3 separate regions of the Homo sapiens genome follow, and all the other regions are linked to region 1. The links are contacts of gene promoters, found by promoter capture Hi-C in human tissues and cell types (Jung and others, 2019). All regions are on one chromosome and are shown on one strand. The core of a region is centred on a gene start or on the middle of the fragment in contact, and the rest is flanking DNA. Distances in the headings are between cores, read along the strand shown. Region 1 holds the start of C3orf52 (chromosome 3 open reading frame 52). Region 2 has its middle 8.7 kb from the start of PLCXD2. Region 3 overlaps PLCXD2 (phosphatidylinositol specific phospholipase C X domain containing 2).

Evidence for each region. Contacts are between HindIII fragments. The study calls those that stand out against the background at their distance.
Region 2: a contact is called between a fragment that was not itself captured here and the fragment with the promoter of C3orf52 in region 1, in 1 of the 25 tissues and cell types used here (spleen).
Region 3: a fragment that was not itself captured here is called in contact with the fragment with the promoter of C3orf52 in region 1 in 1 of the 25 tissues and cell types used here (mesendoderm cells).

The regions. Positions count from the first base shown.
Region 1 is chr3:112,085,022-112,087,696 of GRCh38, forward strand. It overlaps C3orf52 (chromosome 3 open reading frame 52), which reads left to right and starts at 1,368. Exons shown (of 6, transcript NM_024616.3): 1 at 1,368-1,524. The coding sequence starts at 1,387. RefSeq lists an enhancer at 1,030-1,546 and silencers at 1,063-1,112, 1,163-1,212, 1,233-1,282. The HindIII fragment of the contact is 9,818 bases long and covers 1-2,675 here.
Region 2 is chr3:111,664,660-111,667,334 of GRCh38, forward strand. It overlaps a transcript of CD96 not described here. Among named protein-coding and RNA genes, the nearest start is that of PLCXD2, 8.7 kb to the right of the region's middle. The HindIII fragment of the contact is 3,023 bases long and covers 1-2,675 here.
Region 3 is chr3:111,724,210-111,726,884 of GRCh38, forward strand. It overlaps PLCXD2 (phosphatidylinositol specific phospholipase C X domain containing 2), which reads left to right. Exons shown (of 4, transcript NM_001413064.1): 4 at 1-2,675. Among named protein-coding and RNA genes, the nearest start is that of PLCXD2-AS1, 48 kb to the left of the region's middle. The HindIII fragment of the contact is 4,577 bases long and covers 1-2,675 here.

The DNA.
Region 1 (2,675 bases), core at 118-2,617:
CATGCCTTGTTGATTCCCTTAACCCTTGCTCCTTGGTTAAAAAACCTGTTCAAAAATCCCAGCTGAGAATGCAGCCTGATTCTTGCAAGATCCACCTGTTGGAGCAGAAGTCAGTGCAGGTCAGCAGATGAGTCACTGCAGACTCCCCTTAGCAGGCAGATGGATCCAAAGTTCAGGGGATCTGGTAGCAGGCATCAGACTGCTGGAGACAGGATATCTAGGCTGTGTCTCAACATCAGGTACTGAAGATGCCAGACTTTTGGACTCAAGTCAACATATTTGGAGTGGAGCTGATTTATATGCTTCTTGTTAATGGTCTGGTCTTAATGTGTGTGTGTGTGTGTGTGTGTGTGTGTGTGTTGCGTGGAGGGTGAGAAGTAAGGAGCAAGACTATTCGGAACAGAAGCTTGAGAGTTGAGGCCCTTGGCCCAACCCATGCTGTGCTTAACAAACATAATTCCATGCTAACTAAACCGGAAGTTCTGAACTACAGATAGGGTGTCAAGGAGATTGTGTGTGCGCGTGCATTGTGTGTGTGTGTGTGTGTGTGTGTGTGTAAGGCCCCTCCTCTCAAAGATAAATAATAATGGTCATTTATGAGTGCTTGCTGTGTCAATCACTGTTCTGAGTGCTTTGCTTACAACAACCCTTGTAATCCTGGTAACAACTACATTTAGGAGGGTACAAATATTACACCAACTTTCCAGATGAGGACGTTGGCACAGAGAGATGAAGACCGAGGTCTCACAGTGAGGAACCCTCTGGGTGGAGAATAACCCAGGTACACTGGTTTTAGAGTCCGCTGTCCCCAGCACCACACAATACTGTCTCTGTGCCTGACTCTGGACTTGCGAGGAAGTGTGTTGGTGTATATTATTCACCTTCATGCACTCAGAACCTAGCACCATGCTGGCACGAGGCATGGTTATTTGTTGATTGAATGAATGCACTTTTGCTAGGCCGCGAGGACTGTGGCAAACCCCAACAACCAACAGTTCGTAGGGTTAGATCGCAAACTTTTCTCCGTTGGACGGTGCTGCCGGGCCCACCCTTTCCTTACCACAGCCCGGCACCCAGGCAGCCCCTAAACGGAGATGGTCTGCATCTGCAGGCGCGGGGAAAGGCATAGCAGGCAGCGCCCTGAACAAATCAGAAAAACAGCCTTCGGCTCTGGAGCCCACTCCGGCACGGCCTCAGGTGCTCTACCCCGCGGGATCCAGGGAGTGGCCGCCACTCACAGTTGCCCCTCCTGTCCGCTCCGGTCCGCTCCCGCCGCCCGAGGTCCGCGACGCCCCGCCCAGTGGGTGGAGTGTGAGGCGGGGAGGTCGCTCGACTCGCCGGCGCTGTGGCCTCCCGCGGAGCCGCTCAGACTTTCCCTGCCGGCACATGGACCTGGCCCAACCCTCACAGCCAGTAGACGAGCTGGAGCTCTCGGTGCTCGAGCGGCAGCCAGAAGAGAACACGCCTCTCAATGGTGCCGACAAGGTCTTCCCTTCTTTGGACGAGGAGGTCCCCCCGGCCGAGGTAAGGTCCCCTTGGCGCTGGCCCTAACTTGCCGGCGGCGGGACAGTAGTAGGACCCGGGCCTGGCACCCGCGAGTTTCGGGTTTCCAGTCAGGCGGGGCGTCGACGGCGCCGAGCGAGGGTGGGGCGCGCTCGAGTGCTCTGAATGGAGCCGAGTCACCGCGACACCTTTCGGCCCGAGCAGTCCCCTCCCCAGCCCCTGGGGTCCTCCAACCCCTCTGACCCCCGAGGCGCTTTAGGAATCCTAGTGGTGAGGTGTGGCCGCTGCTGTCTTCAGAGAGGTATTCCGGAGATGGAAGTAGTTTTTTAAAGTTATGTAACTTTTAATTCAGTTTTTCTTTTTTCCAGTAGGGAGAATGAGAATGACAAATTGAGTATCCTCCTTCTCTCAGAATCTCTTCTGTCCTCCTCTTACCTTCACTGCCTTGCCACTTCTCTCCCTCCCCTCCACCCACCTCGCCGCAGCCCCCAGCCTTCTTCCATGCCTACCATCCGCCAAGCACTTTCTGCCTTCTCCCAGCCTGGCCATTGGATTCTGCCGGAAGAGAGATAGGGGAGAGCACAGAGGAGAGAAAGCGGTCAGAAGGGGAGAAGGGGTAGGGCTGGCGTAGAGATGGGGCGGGCGGGTTAGGGGGTCGGCGCGGGGGAGGTGAACTTGCCCTGCTCAATTGAAAGAAAATAATTTCAAAGTTCTTGTCTCGAAGGTTGAGACTTCGCCCACCTTGCTTTTACCTCCTCTCAATCCCTAAGGAAGTCCCTGGCTATTTTTAGGCCAAGCTCTTTTCTGATTCATCCCTAGCAATGATGGGAACATTATTCACTCTCATCAAAGACTTGTAAAACATCAGAGCTTTGACTTCCCAGCCATCCACCTTCTGATTAACTCCTAAGATTGGCTTGAGGTTTTCTGGGTGCACAGAACTCCCCATATAGAGCCCCGACCTGATCTTTCTAGGCCCCACTCCTCCACCCCCAACTTTTTGGCTGCCCAGCTGTTGATTTTAGGGATAAGCAGGAAATTCAAAAGTTGAAAGCATTGCTTTTGTTCTACATTGATTCCTGGAACTATTGCAAAGTCTGCTTTTATAGGTACTCTGGAGAGTAATTTGGAAACTTATTTCTGAATAAAATATGAATGCCACAGAAGAATGA
Region 2 (2,675 bases), core at 71-2,570, 420 kb before region 1:
TTGAAATTTTAAACAAAAAAAAGGTATATTAAAAAGGGAGAGAGGACTATATTTTTCAAAAATGTCAATATAAAGAAAGGCTCTGAAAATATTCTAGATTAAAGGAGGCTAAAGAGACATGACAATTGATTGCAATACCTAACTCTAGATTGAATCCTGTACTAGAAGGGGGGAAATGGTATGAAAGACATTTATTAGATCAACTGACAAAATTAGAATATGGACAGATGACTAGATAAAAGTATTTATAACTCCGATGTTGTTATGTAAGAGATATTTTTATTCTTAGGAAATACACAGTTATTATTTAGCAGTCAAAGGACTATGATATAAATAACTTAGCCTCAAAGGGTGTGTGTTCATGTGTGCATGCATATGTATATGCATACACTTATACATACATACATGCATGTATAGATATACATGTATATGCATACAGAGAGAGATGGAAGCAAATGACAAAGTAAAGGGGGTAAATTGTTAAAGACAGATGAATCTAGGTAGATGGAATAAGTGTGTGTGTGTGTGTGTGTGTATGTGTGTGTGTGTGTCTTTTAATATTTTTACTTTTGCAACTTTTTTTGAAGTTTGAAATTATTTCCAAGTAGAAAGTTTAAACAAAAAGTACTTGAGCAAGACCCTAATGAAAGATTCTTAATTTGACTCAAAACTACCCTATTTTTCCAAGACTGCAACCTTTTTACAGTATGACAAAATCCAAAATGCTGTTTCATTGGCGTGGGGGGCAGGATTCTTTCTCTTTTCTCTGAGCATTGTTTAATCTGAAAGTTCAGAAAGAAAATAAGCAAGGATTCATCCCATAAGTTCGCTGTTTTTATATCATTTCTGGGTCTTATTCTACCCTAGGTATTGGCTGGGATCCACCAAAACTTCAATCAATTTTCCTTTCTTAAGGAGATAATTGGAGCCCTTTGATTTTCCCAAAACTCCAGAGCAAACTTACCCTCTCACCGTTGAACCATTTCATATCAAAGAAAACTAAGCTGTGTTTCTCCAGACTCCACCCAAGAAAGAGACTTTCATTCCTCCCTCAAACCCTTGGGCAGTGTTTTTTGTTGCTACTTTAGTAGAAACTACGGAAACAATTCACAGTTTACAGCAGTCCCTGCAGCAAGATCCCACACATGTGGCAGAACTGGGCAGACTCCTGCTCATCATTCCTACTTGGGGCTCCCCACACAGGAGCGGGGGCAGGAAGAAGGCTCAGCAATCACTTCTACAGAACCTCCTCCTACAGGACTTTTACCCATCACCCCAAATTTTGGGTACACAGCTTGACCAATATTTATCTGTTCAATAAATACTATTTGAAGATACTCTCTGTCCTATCTACTGAGATGAAATTTTTCAGTTTGCTATTGTTGCTTTAATGTTTATGTCAAAACGTGCAATGTCACTCCAAGATGAGGGAATGCGGGCTGTGAACTCTGTTGGACCCAAATGTCCTCAAAGGTGGAAAGCTGCCTTCACTCCTCAACGCCCCCACTGTGAGGATGAGGCCAGACACAAAGTAGTATTCAATTCAGTATCATGTGAATGAATGACAGGAAATGGCAAATGAGTGAGTAGGAGAAAGAAAAATGCCTTGTGGAGCAGAGAATTTGCTAAAGGTGGTGATTGTCACTCAAGTATGGTGAGTTGAGCTTTTCTTTTGACTCACTTCACATCACAGACTAATATATCCACTTTAAATCAATGCTCTTCTTCTAATGATTTTTATTGTGGCATGTCAGTCAGGCCAGGAGAGGTCAGGACCTAAATCTGGGCAGCTTGGCAGATGCCTTAGGCTGAATAGGCCACTGAGTCAGTTTCAAAGTTTAGCCCAGATTGGTAGAATCAGGCAGGCATCATAGGTGCAGAGGAAAAAAAAAAAAAAAACAGATCCAAGGAATCAGTGAAGACTCAAGTAAGTAGACACAGAACACCAGTCTAGACAGGTGAGGAAACTTAGTCTAAAACTCTTGGAGCAAGAACATACCTCAGCAGGCTAAAGATTCATAGGAGTTTGAGACCTGAGTCAGAGGCCTCTTGTCTTCTACTTCCGCTGTGTAAATTTATCAGGCTTTAATATTGTACATTCGGTACCAGAAGGGCAGGATGAGCCCTACAAGTGAAACTTTCTCCTGGTCAACTCAAGAGGAGGGAGTTAAGCTTAGGTGGGAAGCTTTCAGTTCTCTACTCTCTTTAAGAAGACAGTCTAATGGCTCATAATCTTGATTCTTCACCAGCGTTTGCTCCAGGTTGCCTAAGGTTTGGGCAAATAGACACGATTTCAAGCTTTGGTTTCAAATCCACTCATAGTCTTCTACTTTACTAAAGTTGGCTGGGCCATGAGTGAACAGAGCTTTCTTGTGCCTAATTGACTTCTTGGTGCCTTTCTTCCAGACCTAGGACTTTCACATTAGGGGTCACAAGTACCCAAGAATAAAGGCGTGTGCCAGAAGGGACTCGAAGCCACAGGGCAAACATAGCACATCCAGAACATCAATTTTGTGTGTGTGTGTGCATGTGTGTGTGTGTGTGTGTGTGTGTAACAAAATGTGAATGAATTTACAAAAACAAACTATGCAGCTTGAAAGAAATGCCAGGATCAGTGCTTGTCATGCCTGCCATACAGGGCTCTGGGGAGTGTGCATTTACTCAGCTCCATGATT
Region 3 (2,675 bases), core at 97-2,596, 360 kb before region 1:
AGACCTCCAAGAGAGTCATGCCAAAAAAGTTTTTATATTTGCTGTATTAAACTCAATGGTAATTACTTTTAGTCATTTTCCTTAGCACTGAATCTAAACCCTGAATTACCGAGAGCAGTTAAGCCACAGTCCCAGGATTTTATTATAAACTCAAAGAAAAGCACAAAATCTGAGCCCAGGTAATGATCCATCTTAGGAATCCTAGTTCTTTTTACATGATCTCATATTCATCCAAAAAAATTGTTTCTTCTCAATAAGACAACGTAGTAGAGTATTCTGGAATTAAATGCAGTTTTATGGCGTGGCGGGACTTTCCATCTCTCGTTTTGAGAATCTTGCCATGAGAAAGTGCTTCCCAATGAGACATTACTACCTCCCAGCTAGGAGGCTTAGCACAATGCTAAAGGTGGAGCAACAGAAGAAATTCAGATGGAAATGAAACTACTTCTTCCTGGGAAGTAAAAGAGCTACATGAAACCAGTCCATCCTGCAGATTTAGTTCATGCCACAGTTGAAGTTTGTGTGATGTTTCTTAGTAGCTAATTTCAAATTTTTACTGTTAGATTCTAAGAAACAGAGTGGGCTAATGATTGGAGCACAGCCATGAGACTCCGCTCCGTTAGCTGAGCATGTGATCCTGTGCTAAATCTTTCTTGGTTCCTTCATCTTTGAAGATGCTGTCTGCTACTTTAGTGCTGACTGATTTGCAAATCTTGGTTGATTAGCTCCCCAATCATAAGGTCCCTAATGATTAGATTAAATGCCTTATACTCAGGGGGTGTGCAGATATGCTATTCTTCCTTCTGTGGCTTGGGTGGAAAAGCTGCTTGGGCTTATTTCCCAACAGTGTGATGTAGGATGGCAGAACTTATCTAGGAATGGCACCTTTGATGATCCATATAATGAAATGTGTAGAGCTCAAAGAAATCTGCCAACATGTATGTGGACTCTTGAGAGGTGGGCTTTCCCAGTACATGCTAAACAGACTTGTTATGCCAAGAGGAAGTGAATAGAAATGATAGCATCAAATATCCAAACTGACAGGAAGTTTCTTTTGCATAGCATAGAACATGGTTGTCTTCTGAGTTCCACTAATGTTCCAGGATATCTTGGCCCTCTGCCTCTGGCTGCTCCCTGGTGTTTGGCACCATAGCGTTGTCACTTACAACCATTGCCTTGGGACACACAGAGTGAACTGTTTGAGTGATAAGTAATTTAGGTAGAAACTTTACCCTTAATTTCAAATGATACCAAACAGCTCATTACTACCCCAAGGGACGCTCTCCGTAGCTTCTGGATTCCCCAGTTTCCTTCTAGAAACAAGGACTCCAATAGCACTATAACCCTAAACAGGCCCTAACCCAGAAGAATACACCACAAAATGCGATTGATTTTCTCAAAATATCACAGTCTTAGACACTATACAAATAATTCAAGAAAATTCTTTCTACCCTGCAGTGGATATAGTATTCTATTATATTCTCCAGCAAAACTTTTAGGACTTTTCAAACTCATTTCTAAGCCAAATAGTTTAGATAAATATTTACCCTTATATTTGGGGGGAATTCAGGCTCACCATTTGCCGAGGCAAGCCCATCAACAGTCTAGAGGCATATTCTGTGTCATTCCTTCCCGTCTCCTTCATAGAATACTACTTTTTCCTTTTGTCTCCTGGCCATTCTCCATCATCTGCTGATTATTGCTAACCACAGGATGCTGGCAAAGCTTACAGTGATAGGCACGTGTGTTCAGTGATGTCCAATACACTCTTATCACAGTGGTTATTGCTTCTTACTCTTTTCAAATGCATTATTCTACCCCTCAACCTACATCCAATCATTAGAACTATACTGGAGCCCAGAACTTGGGACCAATACTTAATTCAAATAGCAGGGGCTTGCTCACAAACATTAAGCCCAACAAGAAGCACAGCACTTTGAAAAGTCAAATAGGCCTTTGGTAGCTCTGTACATTTGCAGTTTTACATTTGTTATTAGTTTATAGCACTAATAACACTTCAGTCGTGAATCTACAGTCTCAATATGATAAGTCTTAGAACATGTTCTAGAAATAGTGGTACCTTGCTGCTATTATACTTAGTAACTTATACCCCAATATAATAATAAGTATTAAATACAGATTGTGTATGCATTCTTTGTGTGTATATGCCAACTGTACTACTTAACCTCACTGATGAGCAATTAGAAAAATACAGAAATTGTCATAGTGAAAATAAGTCTTGGTCAATTCAGATGATACGTGAACCTGATAAATGCTCTAATAGATATGCTATTTTGTCCTGTATTGCTTGTTTTACAGTATGGTGCATGTTGTTTGCTAAGTAAAATGATAATAATAATAAAGTATACCAATTTTAAGGTTAGAATTAAAATTTTGCACATATGCTTCTTGATATTCTGAAATGTATTCTGTGGCTTAATTATCTTATTCATACACATTTCACTTGGCTTTTTACCCCTAGGAAATAATTGTCCAAGTATATATCTCGTCTTCTTTCTTGTAACTTTGATTAAACTGCTTACTTCAACTTACAACATTGTAAAGCCAGAATACCTCATTTTAACAGTGAAAAAAAATATGATGACCTGATGTGTTCTCTTGTATTTGATTTGAACTACCTAAATAGGCTTAACTGTAATAATAAATATACAATT